3 separate regions of the Homo sapiens genome follow, and all the other regions are linked to region 1. Evidence: promoter capture Hi-C in human tissues and cell types (Jung and others, 2019). All regions are on one chromosome and are shown on one strand. Each heading gives the region's core, a stretch centred on a gene start or on the middle of the fragment in contact. The rest is flanking DNA. Distances are from core to core; before and after follow the strand shown.

Region 1 (5,095 bases), core at 1,855-4,354:
TTCAATTGTTCATTGCTAATATATAGAAACAGGACTGAGTTCTGTGTTTTCATCCTGCAACCTTGCAAAACTCACTTATTAGTATTCTGACTTTTTTGTTGGTAAAATTCTTGGGATTTTCGACATAGACTTTTATGTTATTTATGGATAGGGACATCTTTATTTCTTCCTTTCTAATCTGTATGCCTTTTATTTTTCTGGTTTTATTGCATGGGTTAGGACTGCCAGTACACTGTGGAACAGGAGTGAATAGAGTGGACATCTTTACCTTGTTCCTGATCTTAGGGCTCAGCATTTAGTCCTTCATTATTAAGTATCACATTAGATGCAGAGGTTTTTTTTTTTTTTTTTTTTCTTTTTTGGACAGGGTCTTCCTCTGTTGCCCACACTGGAGTGCAGTGGTGCGATCTTAGTTCACTGCAACCTCTGCCTCCCAAGTTCAAGCGATTCTCATGCCTCAGCCTCCTGAGTAGCTGGGATTACAGGTGTGTGTCACTGTACCCTGCTAATGTGTGTGTGTGTGTGTGTGTGTTTTAAGTAGAGATGGTGTTTCGCCATGTTGCCCAGGCTGGCATAGAACTCCTGAGCTCAGGTGATCTGCCTGCCTTGGCCTCCCAAAGTGCTGGGATTACAGGCGTGAGCCACCACATCCGGCCAGATTGTTTTGTATTTTTTGTAGAGACAGGGTTTCACCATGTTTCCCAGGCTGGTCTTGAACTCAAGCTCAAGCAATCCGCCCACTTTGGCCTCCCAAAATGCTGGTATTAGAGGCATGAGCCACAGTGCCTGGCCTAATTTTTTTTTTAATTAAAAATAACAGATATGGAATCTCTCCATGTTGCCCGGGCTGGTCTTGAACTCCTGGCCTCCCAAAATGTTGAGATTGCAGGGGTGAGCCACCATGCCTGGCCTGTTGTTTTTGTTGTTGCTTTTTGTAGATTCCTTTTATGAGATTAAGCATGTTCCCTTTGCTTTCTAGTTTGCTGAGAGTGTTTATCAGGGATGAGTGTTGAATTCCGTCAAATACTTTCTTTGAATTGATTGAGATGATCACATGGTTTTCTTCTTGAGACTAATATGGTGGATCACATCGATTTATTTTCACATGTTGAACCAGCCTTGCCTTTCTGGGATAGCCTCCATTTGGTTGGGGTATTTGTGTGTGTGTGTTTTTAATGCTGCTTGATTCTATTTGCTGATAATTAGTTGAGGGTTTTTGTGTCATGTTGGCATTGGCGGCTGTTGATTGTCTTTTCTCTTGCAGGTTGGATTTCCTGATTCTTCACATGCAGAGTAATTTTAGATTGTCTCCTGCACATTTAGACATTATGTTATGAGACTGGTCTTATTTAAATCCCATTGAGAATGTTGGCATTTTGTTTTATCATGCAATCAACCTAGTTGGTTTCAGGCCACAAGTTCAAATAGGCTCCTGTGGGTCCTGCCTTCCATGTCGGTTTTGTTTTCAAAGCCTTTGCAGTGGGACTCAGATCTGTCCTTCGTATGCACTGCCCAGTGGCCAGTGTGGGACGTGGGCAGTGGGCTGTCCTTTTGTTCAGTTCTCAGCCTTTGGGATGTGAATGAGGGTTTAGACTTGTACATCATGTATGGCTTGCACAACTTCCTGGGGTTGCTTTTTTTTTTTTTTTTTTTTTGAGACAGAGTCTCACTCTGTTGCCCAGGCTGGAGTGCAGTGGCAAGATCTCGGCTCACTGCAACCTCCATCTCCCGGACTCAAGCAATTCTCCTGCTTCAGCCTCCCGAGTAGCTGGGATTACAGGTGTGTGCCACCACGCCCGGCTAATTTTTATATTTTTAGTAGAGATGGGGGTTTCACCATGTTGGCCAGGCTGGTCTCGAACTCCCGACCTCAGGTAATCCGCCCACATCGGCCTCCCAAAGTGCTGGAATTACAGGTGTGAGCCACCACGCCCAGCCCATGGATTGCTTTCTACTGCTTCTCCCTGCCCACCATCTCTCCAGCGACAGGGGACCACATCTCCTGGGGCTGGAAAGGAAGGCTCTTCTGCCTCAGCGTTTTAGGTGCTTGTAAACCCTATGCCTTGGTCATGGCTTTGGTGGGATACCTAGGGGCTGGGGCATCAGAGAATGGAGAAGAGTAAAAAAACAACCACTACCAAAAAACCCCATCCTCCCAAACCCTAACATCCCCCCGGGCATTCTCCTGCACCCTGGGAGCATTAGGCGACCTTTTTCTTTCCTCCCCTTGTGCCAGGACTAGAGAACTTCTGGAGCTCTCTGTCCTCTTCTGGCTTTCAGGCCGTGTTGAGTCCAGGCCCGGGGATACGGGAAGAGAATCTGGAAGTTCACTACCAGTTGGGTGGTGCCTCAAATTCTGGTCTTTCCACCAAATCTGGTGTCCCTTTACCTCTCTGACCCTCAGTCTCCTCCTATGTCAGAGGGAAGTCACAGCAGTTCTGGGAAGGAGGGCAGGCAGGCAGAAGGTGCCCTCGGGTTCTTCTCTGGCTCACACGGGATGGACAGGATGTGGGGGGAGGGGCTTAGTGCCACCTCAGTGACAAAATGAAGCCCAAGTCCCCAAACCCTAGCTTGCCTCCTGGACGGGCTGGAGAAGAAGGTGGGGGCCGCTCATCATTCCTTTCCTCTGCCCTGAGAAGAAACCTGGGAAGGCTGGGTTTCTCCCCAAAGAGGACAGAGGGTGGCGCGGAGGGCCCCGGCGGCCAGGCCAGCCCCGCGCCTACATCCCTGTCAGCTCCTGGGCCGGTGGGCGCCTGTCCGGCTGAGTGGGGTCGCTCTAGGGGGCGGCAGCGGAGTTTCAGGGCGCGGGGGGCACTGGGCGGGACCCTGGGATTCTGGGCGGTGGGTGAGGAGGGTGGAGACGGGACTCCGCGCCTGGGGGTGCGCGAGGGCGCCCCGCTCCCCAGAGCCACCAGTCCTGCGCGCCGCCGCGCGGTGCTGTCGCCGTGGCAACCGGCGCTGCGGAGGGGGCGGGGCACCGGCACCCCCGCGCTCCCAGGTCCCCAGGTCCGGCGGGGCTCGCGGGCCGAGGGGCGCGGGGCGGGGCCTCTGGGTCGGGGGCGGTGCCGCGCGGGCGGGGGAGGGGCGCGGCGGGAGGAGCCGGCGCGGCCCCGGCAGTGGCGGCAGAGGCTGGGCGGGCGGGCCCGGGAGCGGCGCAGCATCTGCGGGCGGCGGGGTAGGCGCGGGCGCGGGCGGGACTGGCTGGGTGCGCGGCTGCGTCCGCGGAGGGGGCGGCGGGCCTGGGCGACCCTGCACCTCTGGGCCGTGGGGACTGTGGGGTGGGGCGGGGGCCGATGCGGCAGGGGTGAGGCCTGGGGCCGGCGGGGTGACGGGGACCCGGCCCTGCGTGGGGAAGCCTCGGGGGGACAAGCAGAGACGCAGCCTGCTGGGAGCGGCCCAAGCTCTGCACCGGCCCGCGGCGGGAGCACAGCAGCCCCCTCCCGCCCCTCCTCCCGGGGGCTCCGAGGGGTGGTTATGGGGCGAGGGTCCTTGCGGGGCCCGGGCAGTGAAGGGCCTGGAGGCCCCAGAGTCTGTGCCAGGTCTGAGCCGCGGGGCGTGGGGGGAGGAGGGGCCTCGGCCGGGGCCCAGGAGACCCAGGACAGGTGGGCCTGGGGCCAGGTCCCTACGGAGAGGTGGCCGGGCCGGGCTCTGGCTTGCCGGGGTAGGGGCTCCGCTAGGGGCTGGAGTCCGTCCCTTCGCCAGCGCAGAGCCCCTCGGCCCGCATCTGCCAAGTGACTGAGGATCGAGCGACAGCGTAGTGGGGCGGAGGGGCTGGAGGCACGGCCGGAAAGGGTGAGCGGCGCCGTGGCTCCCCCGCTATTTATTTGGCCCCGCCACGCGCGGAGAGGGAGGAAATTCTCAGGCTGCGGCTGCAGCTAGGGGAGGCCCAGGTGGGCCTGGAATGGGCCCAGAGAGGGCTTCCTGGGTCAGACGTGTAGATCCAGTGGACGTGAAAACCGGGTGAGTGTCCCGGTGGGACCCAGAGCGCGGGGAGGCTTGGAGGCAGGGGCATGGGCTGAGGACCCTCAAGGCACCCTCCTCGCGACCTGTCAGAGCTCCGAGGGGTGGGGGTGTCCTGTGTGTGGCTGTGGGGATCCTGGGCGGCGGGTGCTGGGTGGGGGCAGGGGTGGGAGTGCAGAGTTCAACGCTTTCCCGGATCGGTGGGGCCTGCGGTGTCACCAGGGCAGTCCGAGCGCCCGACTGTCACGGGGACATTAAATTTTATGCCTTTGTCTAGACACGGCAGTAAACGGAGCCCCAGGCCTGGGGCTGTGGAGGGGGTGAGGGGCTGGCTGGGAGTAAGCCTGTCAGTGACTTTGGGGTGGGTGCGGGTGTGCGGGCCTCCATTGTCACCCAGGTGTGCACAGGCCCAGGTGCGGGGACTCCGACAGCACGGCCATGAGGACCAGTGCCAGGTGTGTGACAGAGGTGCAGGGGCCTGTGGAAGCCCGACGGGCCTTGGTGGACGGGCTTCCCGAGATTCGAGGGCAGCCACAGGCATCGCCCTGGCGCAGAGGAGCAAAGCAGGGTGGCTCTGCCGGGGCAGAGGGTGGGGGACAACACCTCGCCAAGGCAATGCGGAGCCATGGGGAGCAGGGCAGGCAGTGGCCACGCGCCCAGGATGGTGGACAGGAGGGGAGACCGAGCCTGCCCGTGCAGGGAGGAGGGGCGTGGGGGCTGCCGGGCAGGGGCGGGGAGGCTCGGAGAGGCTTGTGGGACGGATGCATCGGGACCTGGGTGGCTCTCGGTCCGGGATCAGAAAGCCTGGGAGGGCCGAGGCCTCCTTGGGTACTCCAAGAGCGGAGGGGCAGGCCCGCCTCCCTGCCCAGTGCGGCGGCGGGGAGAGGGTATTCCCGGAACTCCGCGGAAACGGCCTGAGGCCAGCAGCGCGGGCGTGGGGTCCGGGCCGCCGGAGCCAGGAGGGAGGGCGGCGCGGGCCCAGCAGTGACAAACCCCCCCGGGCTCCGGGAACGAGCTCGGCGGGCAGAAAACGCGTCCGTTCCGTTTCCTTCCTGGCGGCGGGAACGAGGCCCGGGTGCTCTGGCGAGGCAGCAGCGCCCTCTGGAGGCCTCGCTGTGGTTCGCGGCCGCCGGTT
Region 2 (5,095 bases), core at 1,505-4,004, 460 kb after region 1:
ATGGATTACTTTAAATTTCTTCCTACATCTTCTCTTAATAATTTTTAATAACGAATGTGTCTTACCTATATTCCCAATATTTAAAACTGGGTTGTCAAGAGAGTCTAGAGAATTTGAGAACTAGGAACAGTGAAACTCCTGTATGTTCAGCAGCTCCCAAAGCAACACAATATTCCCCAGGAACACTGTTCTGTCCTCCAGCATAATTCATGCTTGTGTATTTCCTAATGGCTCCAATAGTGACCCTCCATTCCCACCAAACATTTGGCCTCCCCTCTCTCCACTTCCCCTCCATTCATACATTACACTCTCAGCTCTGTCTAGGGTGTCATAAAAGCCAGCGGACGGACCCTCCTGATCTCCTGAACATGAAAGCCAGCACTATCATGTGATGGGCTCCTCTTGGCATGGTGACCTTCAAAGGCACCTCATTTAAATAATCACCTTTTTTTTCCTTCTGTAACAAAGTGTTTCTTTCCATTGTGCCTTCCCATAAGCAGTTTAACATAATTTACTGTCCGACCACAGTTATTAATACACACAAATGCCACAACCTCTTTCTAGCCCAAGAGACCTGATTAATTCTTCTTTGGGGATGAGCACACCCTAGAAACACATCCCATTCACATAAACACGGGCACACCGATGACGTGTTCTTGAGTCTACACCATTCTCCGTCCAACTCCATGAGCCCCTGAAGACCAAGACAGGCTCTTTCACACCTGTGCAAGCTCCGGCCCAGGGACGGCCTGCTGAGGAATGGGCTCAGCTGGGTCTGGGTGCTGGGTTCATCTCTTCCCCTCTCCTGTCCCAAAGCAGGTCCATCACCCTGCTCAGGTCTGAACAGGAGTGTCTAGGTTTTTCTGGCCATCCGACTTTTTCAATGTATAGAAGCTCTCCTATTACCTACTGTATTCATTTTATAGGGCTTTTATAACGAAATACCACAGATCGGATGGCTTACAATACAAAACCAATTTCCTCACACTTATGGAGGATGAAAGCCTAAGATCAAGCTGCCAGCTGGGTGGGTTTCCTCTGAGGTCTCGCTCCCTGGCATGCAGATGGCGCCTTCTCACTGTTCTGTGGTAACATGGCCGTCCCTCGGGGCCTGTGCACCCTCCCTCCTGCTTCCTCTTCTTATAACAACAGTCAGATTGCATTAGGGCCCCACTCCAGGAATCTCACTTTAACTTATTCACCTCTTTAAAGGACACTAATCCAAGTATGATTTCATTCTGAAGGACCAAGGGTTGGGACTTCAGCACATGAATTTAGGAGGGACACAGTCTCCCCTAGCAGCCTCCTTCAGGGATGTCAAATAAAAGGAATAAAAGGACACTGATGCTCCAGAAGGCCTTGAGAGTTTGCAGCTGCTTTGTTGTGGTGGGACGTGGGTAGGCCTGCACCTTATCTATGATGGCAGATGGAATGACTTTAGTTTTACCCAACCAGATGACACCAACTATTTGACTGATAAGCCTGGACCCTGGATTTTGTCTGTATTAACCTCCCATCCTCTATTCAGCAAGTGAGACAGCAAGACAGGGGCTGTAATTTATAAGCTGAAAAAAGACTCAGAGGTTATCATGATAACACCAATGTAGTGGAAAACATGTATCCCCTTTGGGTCAGCCCATCGACTGAGGTTGGAGGTCACTAGGCTGTGAGATTTGGGCTGTGTAAATATCCCTGGAACAAGACAGTAAAAGTCCATTGTTCTTTTTAGGTTAATGCAAATTGATCTTGACTCTGGGGCAACAGAAATGCTGAAGAAGGTATTGACTAAACTGATAAGGAAATGCTACGTGGCTAACACCTCTCCTATTCTCGTCAGACTGGAGGAGATATTAGGAACAGCTGCATTCACTCGGGAGACCACCTTATTTAACTCCCAGTAATCTACTGTCATTCTCCATGTCTCAACTGGCCTCTGCATGGGCCATGCAGGTCTGTTGTAGGAACCATGCAGTGGCCTCCTAATGCCTACCTGGGCTAGCTCCTTAACAATCTTCATGATTGGATCATCTTCCCCTCCCAGGGCAGGTGGTGTTGCTCCAGCTGTGGGACTCCCCATGGGTTGGCAGCTCTACTGGCATCCAGTTTGCCTTCTGCTTGGTCACACACATCACCACTCTAACTCTCCGTTGGAATTCCCTGGCCGTTGTTTGGAGGGTCACGCCTAAGAAGATATCCATTCTCATGTGTTCTAGGATGGAAGCTGTGTATACTACACAGGGTCTGGGTGGCAGTCCCCCAGGTCGTATCACTAGTTCAACCGGTCTGACTTCCGTGGCCCTTCCATAACCACCTATTGCCGCTATGGGCCCAGAGAACTGGTAGGTGTTGCCAGTTAGAGCACATTCGTTGTCTGGCCACCCTGACTGGCTCCTTGGCTGTCTCTCTTCCTTTGGTGCCATTGTTCTTCATCACAGTAGGGTGCATCCCTTGCTTACTCAGTTTCTTCTTTTCTCCTAAGTCAGCAACTACCTGGGGCACATGAAATGTTGGCTGCCCTCCCAGGGGGCTTAACATGGAAATCAGTGCACCATGCCATTGGGTAGGCACTGAATACATAACTGTAGCTTTTATTTTGCAGTAAACAATTCATTGTTGGGACTTCAATAATTCTCAGCATAATTAGCATGCCTCATCTCGACTCCCAGAAGATATCCTGCAACTCTTCTATAGTCTGCCATTGAGAACGAGCTGTGGGGGCATCTTCCTCATTGGACCCGGCCCCCTTGGAGCCTGCAACCACTTACCATAAAGGTGCCATCATAGGGCTGGATGGTTTGTGATGGGTGTCATTTTACTCATCTTGAGTCCAGAGAGTATAATACTCTCCACCCCCTATCCCATAGAGAAGCCACCCTGTGATCCACTCTCTCCCCTTGTGTCTGAATCCAATTCTAAGCTCCCCCAATTCCACAGTGGTGGAATTCCGCATTGTGGTGCACTGCCTTCTCTTAGGTGGGGGAAAGTTCTGTGGGGCTAACTTCTGCTGGCACAGTTGGCCCACTTTTATGTTGGTGGTGACCACCACAAGTACCATTTGGCTACAGACTGTGTCCTGGCATTCCAAGGCTTTTGTGTCTGGAAGGCATCCTTTAGCCAGCCTGCTAAAGGTTGTTCCGGATGTGGAGTGGCCCTCTTTGTCACATCCTACACTCGTAAGGCATGACATGTAGTGCAGTTGCTACTCCTAAACAGTATATCTCACTTCAGCTTCCTTCTGTCTTTGAGACCAGGGTCTTAGGGACACACACTTATGTCCTTGCCTTTAACACAGTCCCCACCTAAACCCCTCAGGGTAACTGACTACATCCAATTCACAGGGCTGTCCCTGCACTAGAACTCCCAAGGTTTGTATTCATTTCACTGTGACTTCAGCTTCTTCAGAGCCCTCATCCTCCCTTTTGGAACAGTCGCAGTGGGGCACCTTCTTGTCTAAGTGCCATGGGGGCCCAAGGGGTTTGCCGAAATGGGGAATAAAGGATCGCCAATGTCCCAGGAGGCCTTGGGAGGTTTCCAACTGCTTTGGTGTGGTGGGACATGAGTAGACCTGCATCTTATCTTATCTATGATGAAATATGGAATAACTATAGTCTTATGTAACCAGATGACACCAAGTATTTGACTGATAAGCCTGGACCCTGGACTTTGTCCGCATTGACCTCCCATCCTCTGTTCACCAAGTGAGACAGCAAAGCAGGGGCTGCAGAGCAAGAACCTTTATGGACTCATCCTAACCTTCATCTCCTTCCCACTGGAGCTCTACATCGGACGCCAGGACTTAGGCTCCCAGGATGACGTAGTCATAGTAGTCCTAATGCATTGGTGTGGCAGTCAGCAACACTTTAAATGGCCTACCAAATAAACAATAGTCTCCAATTTGCTATCCTATCCCTACAGGCGGCATCTCATTATAGTTACAACTGTTCTCGTGGCTGACACACCCTAGCCTGTGCAATGAGCTCTGCCTCAGTGGTTGCTCAGAGTGCAGTCAGGAGTGGCCAACAGCTGCCACAGCTCAGGAATCTGACTGTCACTTTGTCACATTGTCACATCCACCTCAGGCAACAGGTCCTCCAGAACTTTTGGCATTTTGGAGGCATCCCCGTACACATGCAGCGGGCCCCATCCATCAAGGATTGCAGCTGTTGGGCCCACAGAGATGTGCATGGCCTGCCTGGGATTTCCTCACAGGTCTCCCCTTCCTTGACGCTGTTGTCTAAGAGCTTGCAGGATTTTCTTTGACCTTGTTCTGGGCCTACCAGTTGTCATGCTAGACCCCTATTGACTGTAATAGGCGTGGCACCATGTCCAAAAGGCTGAAGAGGAGACCTGGAGCCCATGAACAAGACCTAGGGTGTATTGAGGACTTGCATACAATGTGGCCCAGGAAAAGTGTGTTGGACAGGAAAACCACTACCATTTGTAAAACACATGTAGTTTATATTATGATTTTCACTTAGCACCCTCTACCTAGCAACCTCCAGATTTAACAAAGAGCATCAATCACCTGGACATCCTGTGTTCCAAGGGATAGGCCAGGGATTCAGATGTCCTTCACAGACAAGGAATAAACTTCTGGGTTGACAGCTCCTGGATTTCTTAGCTCAGAGCTCTGAACATACATTCTTCATAAACTATAGGGTCATTCTTACAGTGTGCTTAAATTAACGCTGCCAGGCATTTCTGGCATACATAGATCTGAACACACACCTCATAAAACAATGTATAAAAAAGTGTTCATCAAGACTTTGTATTAAGAATATGTATATTTAAAACAACCATTAAATACTGCTACTCATTTACTATAATATTACAACGGCTGCACAGCAAAGCATTAGTGAATACTGACAAGGCTCCAGAAAAGAAAATCTTATTCACTGTTGGTAGGAACGTAAAATGGCACTTCCTTTTTGGAAAATATTTTCAGTATTTCTTTGGAGTTAAACATGTTAATTGAACAGATGACTCTAAGGTACTTTATTCAACTGTTTTTTTGTTTTGTTTTGTTTTGTTTTGTTTTGAGATGGAGTTTCACTCTGTCGCCCAGGCTGGAGTGCAGTGGCGTGATCTCGGCTCA
Region 3 (5,095 bases), core at 739-3,238, 310 kb after region 1:
GGCAGATGAGAGTGGTTCTTTTCCATCTTGTTTTTACTTTTTTCCTAAATCTGTGCTTTGAAACAACCTTTAAACAAACTCCAAATTAGATAAATTTTTTTTTGCAGTAAAATAAATTATAAATGCCTGTCTTATAGTTTTTAAAAATGAAAAACACATCTTATTTTTTGTGGTATACTTTGTAGACAGAATTATATATATTAATTAGAATTTTAACTCTTAGTAACCTTATTTTCTAGCAAGCAAATTTTAACCATTTGTCACATATCACTATTTTATAGATGAGAAAAATTTTATAATTTTTGAAAACATATTTCTATGACATAATTTTTACATATATTAATAGACCCAAATAAATTTAGTCTTTCTACAAAATTTCTATAAAATTTAAGAAGCCAAGAACAAACATTTATGTTCAGTAATTTGTGTTAGTTTTAAAAATCTTATTTGGAAATGACCCAGACATTTAATGAGTATCTATTATTTAACTGAAGATAACATAATTTTAAGATCTTAAATTACATAAGAAGCTTATTTATAAACATTTATTTTCTTGACATTTATCTTATTTATTTATTTATTTTAGTGATGGGGGTCTTGTTGCATCGCTCAGGGTGGTCTGAACTTCCGGGCTCAAGCAATCCTCCCACCTCAGCCTCCTGAGTAGCTAGGACTATAGGCGTGTGCCATGACACCAGGCTTAATTAATTTATTTTTAATAATTTACCTAGATTACTTATGAAAATTGAGATATTAGACAAAGCTAGCCATTACTTAAAGTTATTTCCCTTTTAACCATTTTTATAGCCTGTGATTATTAGATGTTCACTTAGTAAGAAACTTAGTGAAGTGTATGGGTATTTTGTCGATAGCTCATAAGATACAGCTGTTTTTATTAAGCCTGCAATATTAAATTAGCCTTTTTTTTTTTTTTTGAGATGGAGTCTCGCTGTTGCCTAGGCTGGAGTGCAGTGGCGCTCTCTTGGCTCATTGCAACCTCTGCCTCCCGGGTTCCAGTGACTTTCCTGCCTCAGGCTCCCAAGTAGCTGGGATTATGCCCACCACCACACCTGGCTAATTTTGTACTTTTAGTAGGGATGGGGTTTTGCTGTGTTGGCCAGGCTGGTCTCAAAGTCCTGACCTCTAGTCATCTGCCCACCTTGGCCTCCCAAAGTGCTGGAATTACAGGCATGAACCACCGCACTCAGCCAAATTAGTCTTATTTATCAAAGATCATACAAAGATTATTCTGTTTTAGGATGGGTTTATAGTTTTATCATCTTTGTGTCAAACCCTGACATCTTAAAACATCTATCAGAGACAAATATAAAGCTGTCTGACGAGTAAACTCAGGGAAAAATATATGCTGACAATTCTGAGAACATTTGTATTTTTATTTTACCAACAATTTTAAAACTGATTTGTTTATTAAAGATATACTTAAGTCACATGAACTAAAAGGCATTTGGGTTAATTAGTACATATTTTTTATGAATGCTTATTTATCTAAGCCAATCTAAATAGAATCCCTTAATAGATTTTTTGTTGATGATGCCAGATTTTACCATGTAGATAACAACATACAACATAATACACATACATATGCATAAACACAATTAACCACATACGCACACAAATAAAGACACTGTAGCTTTCATTTTAGAATTTTGGTCATGAGATAATAACACAAATGTGTCAGTTTCTAAAAGACACTTCAATCCAAATTATATTTTTGACAAAACTGGGACTTGTTCACAAGCTAAACTTTATTTGTCCTGATGGGTCGTCTAATGAGGGCCATGGATCAGAATTTTGGGTAAAGCAGTTTCTGCATTAGTTTGATTTCAAAAGACCTTTTTCAGTTTTAAATGAATTTAAGGTTAAATTTCCAGTGATTGCGTTTTAGCTAGGACTGGCTGAATTGTATATGAAAAACAAAATCTTCAACTCGTCTATACTAGTAACAAATCTATTTTTTGGTTGCTGGTCTGATTTTCTGGACTAGACAATGCATGCAGGGAAGCATTTAGCAGTGTTTTTCCTTTTTCTGGCACCTGTGGCAAAGCAAAATTTTTATGGCAGACAGAGATACCTTATATTACTGCTCTAAGCTCAAGATTTTGGCCTGTTCGATCTGAAAGCCCAATTTCTGTAAATATTTACCTAGTTCTGTTCTTTGAGACCATCAGTCCTTCAGTTAGCTATTCCATCAGCCTAAGCAGTTGTTAGCCAAGCAAAGCTAATCTACATTTTCAAAAGAAATGACTCTTACATCTAGGTCATTGGTTACCATAGAGCTGTTGTAATTTGTAAAGCCACTAATTTAAAACCTTTAGGAAACTTTAAAAAATCTTGGGCCAGGCACGGTGGCACACGCCTATAGTTTTAGCACTTTGGGAGGCCAAGGCAGGTGGATCACTTGAGGTCAGGAGTTCAAGACGAGCTTGGCCAACACAGTGAAAGCCTGTCTCTACTAAAATACAAAAATTAGCTGGGCATGGTGGCGGGCACCTGTAATCAGCTACTCAGGAGGCTGAGGCAGGAGAATCACTTGAACCCGAGAGGCAGAGGTTGCAGCGACCCAAGATAGCGCCACTGCATTCCAGCCTGGGTGACAGAGTGAGACTCCATCTAAAAAAACAAAAAACAAAAAACAAACAAACAAAAAACCAAAAATATCTTGGCTGGAATGCTGTAACCAGTGAGTTTTATTGCAACATGAGTAAAAAAGTCAGCAGATTTAAAGTAGGCAGAAAAACAAAATAGAGAGATAGAGGACTTAGGAGGCACTGCATGATGACTACTGTTGCAGGGTTTTTGTTAGAGTTCGAAAAATAACCATTGGAACTCTAAATTTTCCTTGACGTAATTTGCCCATTAGTTTAAAAATGTGCACAAAGACGTAGCCAGCGGGAGTTCCAGAAAACTTACTGTGCCTTAATATTTAAAAACCATTCCCCTTCTTATTAATCTTTTTACAGTAAAGAACATTCTACAGATACTATGAGGCCACGCCGGCAGTTTGGACTGGTGCTTTAGACGGTGGTGACTGCTGTAGCAGCTTCTAATGAGACAGCCTGTGCCCACCATTTAGAATGTTTATTTTGCTCTCCAAAGATTTTTAGAAGCAAGCAGAGGAAAAGAGCCAGGTCATTTACAGATACACATAACCACAGCAAAAGAAGGCAAGATAAGGGTGCTCACAAATATGTTCACCCAGGCATGCATATCCAACAAAGTATTAAAGGAGGCACCTCACCAGAGAAGACATCCCTCAGAGACAGAATGCAAACTCTGTGGAAACCAGAGTACTCAGGCTGGAATGTCTTTATGCTAAACAGGACTTGCCAGAAAGCACGAAAAGCCTTTTATCATCCCAGGAGGGACATAAGGTCCTTTATTAAGGCAGTCTAATAAACAAACCCCACATAATATTAAAAAAGCATCTTCCAAAAAGAGGGAGGGTTGGCCTGAGAGAAGACGGAGTAGCTCAGAAAAAGCTGAGAGCTCAAAGGGCTCAAGTGAATACTGCACACCGGCCCAAGAATTACTGACTCCTTCCAGCAGTGATCCTTCTCCACATCCCACTTCTGACTCCATGTATCTCAATCTAAATAACAAGAGAAATGCCGTCTAAAAGAAAAAGATATCTATTTGGAGGTAGAGCACTGCAGTGGGATACACCTGCCATGATCAGCTATGTGCGTATTCAGGGAGGCAAAGGGAGACCAAGGCTTTCAAAGGAAAAATGAGGAGGATTACATGATTGCTTTGAGATAATTACCCTCTCTACAAGGACCAATAACAAAGGCAATGCCAGTCTGAGGTTGGACAGCCCGTTGCTGGGAAGATGTCCTCACAGAAGTACTTTCTGTGTAAGGTTGTGATGGTCTTTGTGCCAGTTGCAGTTTTTGTAGAGTCCTTGGTGATAGTTTTTGTTATCAAGTGTTTATGGATGAGAACCCTCTTCTCTTCTTGGCCTTCCTAGGCTCTATTTGTCAGGGATTTAGAAAAAAAAAAAACCACAGGTGACTCAATTTTGATTCTGATGACTTCCACATACTACAGACGTGGTGGCTGAGAAACAACAGAAACTTATTTCCCACCATTCTGGAGGCTGAATGTCCCAGACCAAGGCTCCAGCCGATGGGTGTCTGGTGAGGCCTGCATCCCAGCTCATAGACGGCATCTCCTCACAGGGGAGAAAGGGTGAGGGAGCTCTCTGGGGCCCCTCTCATAAGGGTGCTAATCCTCTTCATGAGGGCCCCCCTTTTATGACCTCAGCACCCCCAAAAGCCCCATCTTCTAATACCATTACATTGGAGGTTAGGATTTCAGGGGGAAAGGTATGAATATACGAATGTATGAATTTCAGGAGGACACAAATGTTCAGCCCACAGCAGATGATAACAGGAGGTCCGACCAATACCTGGGTCCTTGCTGAGCCCCTTTCAGATAGGATTTTACTCACTTCTCACCTCACTCTACTTGACAGGTGTATTTTCACCCCATTCTGATGAGGAAATGGAGGTACGGAGTTCAGGCTCTTGCCCACAGTCATGCAGACAGTAAGAGGTGCAGGCTCTCGATACACACAGAACAGGCTCCATGTGCAAGGTTGTTCCCGTGCCATCCTGTCATGGCGTGTGCATGCATAAGTGTGCATGTCTGTGTGTATGCGCGTGCACGAGCATGTGTGTCTTTGATGCCTATGTGCACTTGTGTGTGTGCAGGTGCACGTCCGTGTATGTGCATGCAGATGTGTGTGTCTGCAGACCTGCACATGCATGCCTTGTGCATGTGTGCCCATGCCTGTGCATCTGCCTGTTTGCATGTGAGTGTACTGCATGTGTGTGCATATATGTTTATTCGTGAGCTGTGCACATGTGCATGTGTGCATAGATGCTTGTGTGCATGTGTGTGCATGTACGAGTGAGCGTGAAATGTTTGTGTTTGGTGTGGGGAGGGGCGTTTCTTAACCCATTAACTTCAGAGCAAGGTCTCCGCTCAGTTCTTGCTGTGACAGCTTTGGCTATTGCGTTCCCTGTTGCTGCTGACACCCCAAACTCCCTTCCCATTGCCGTTAGCTCCCTGT

Evidence for each region. The method cuts DNA at HindIII sites, captures the fragments that hold promoters and counts their contacts. A contact is called where the count stands out against the background at its distance.
Region 2: a contact is called between a fragment that was not itself captured here and the fragment with the promoter of TMEM121 in region 1, in 1 of the 25 tissues and cell types used here (lymphoblastoid cells).
Region 3: a fragment that was not itself captured here is called in contact with the fragment with the promoter of TMEM121 in region 1 in 1 of the 25 tissues and cell types used here (H1 embryonic stem cells).

Annotation. Positions count from the first base shown.
Region 1 is chr14:105,523,479-105,528,573 of GRCh38, forward strand. It overlaps TMEM121 (transmembrane protein 121), which reads left to right and starts at 3,105. Exons shown (of 2, transcript NM_025268.4): 1 at 3,105-3,175. RefSeq lists a silencer at 4,763-4,972. The HindIII fragment of the contact is 20,488 bases long and covers 1-5,095 here.
Region 2 is chr14:105,980,626-105,985,720 of GRCh38, forward strand. It overlaps IGH. Among named protein-coding and RNA genes, the nearest start is that of FAM30A, 65 kb to the left of the region's middle. RefSeq lists an enhancer at 1-405. The HindIII fragment of the contact is 7,810 bases long and covers 1-5,095 here.
Region 3 is chr14:105,831,617-105,836,711 of GRCh38, forward strand. It overlaps IGH. Among named protein-coding and RNA genes, the nearest start is that of MIR4539, 23 kb to the right of the region's middle. The HindIII fragment of the contact is 5,609 bases long and covers 1-4,793 here.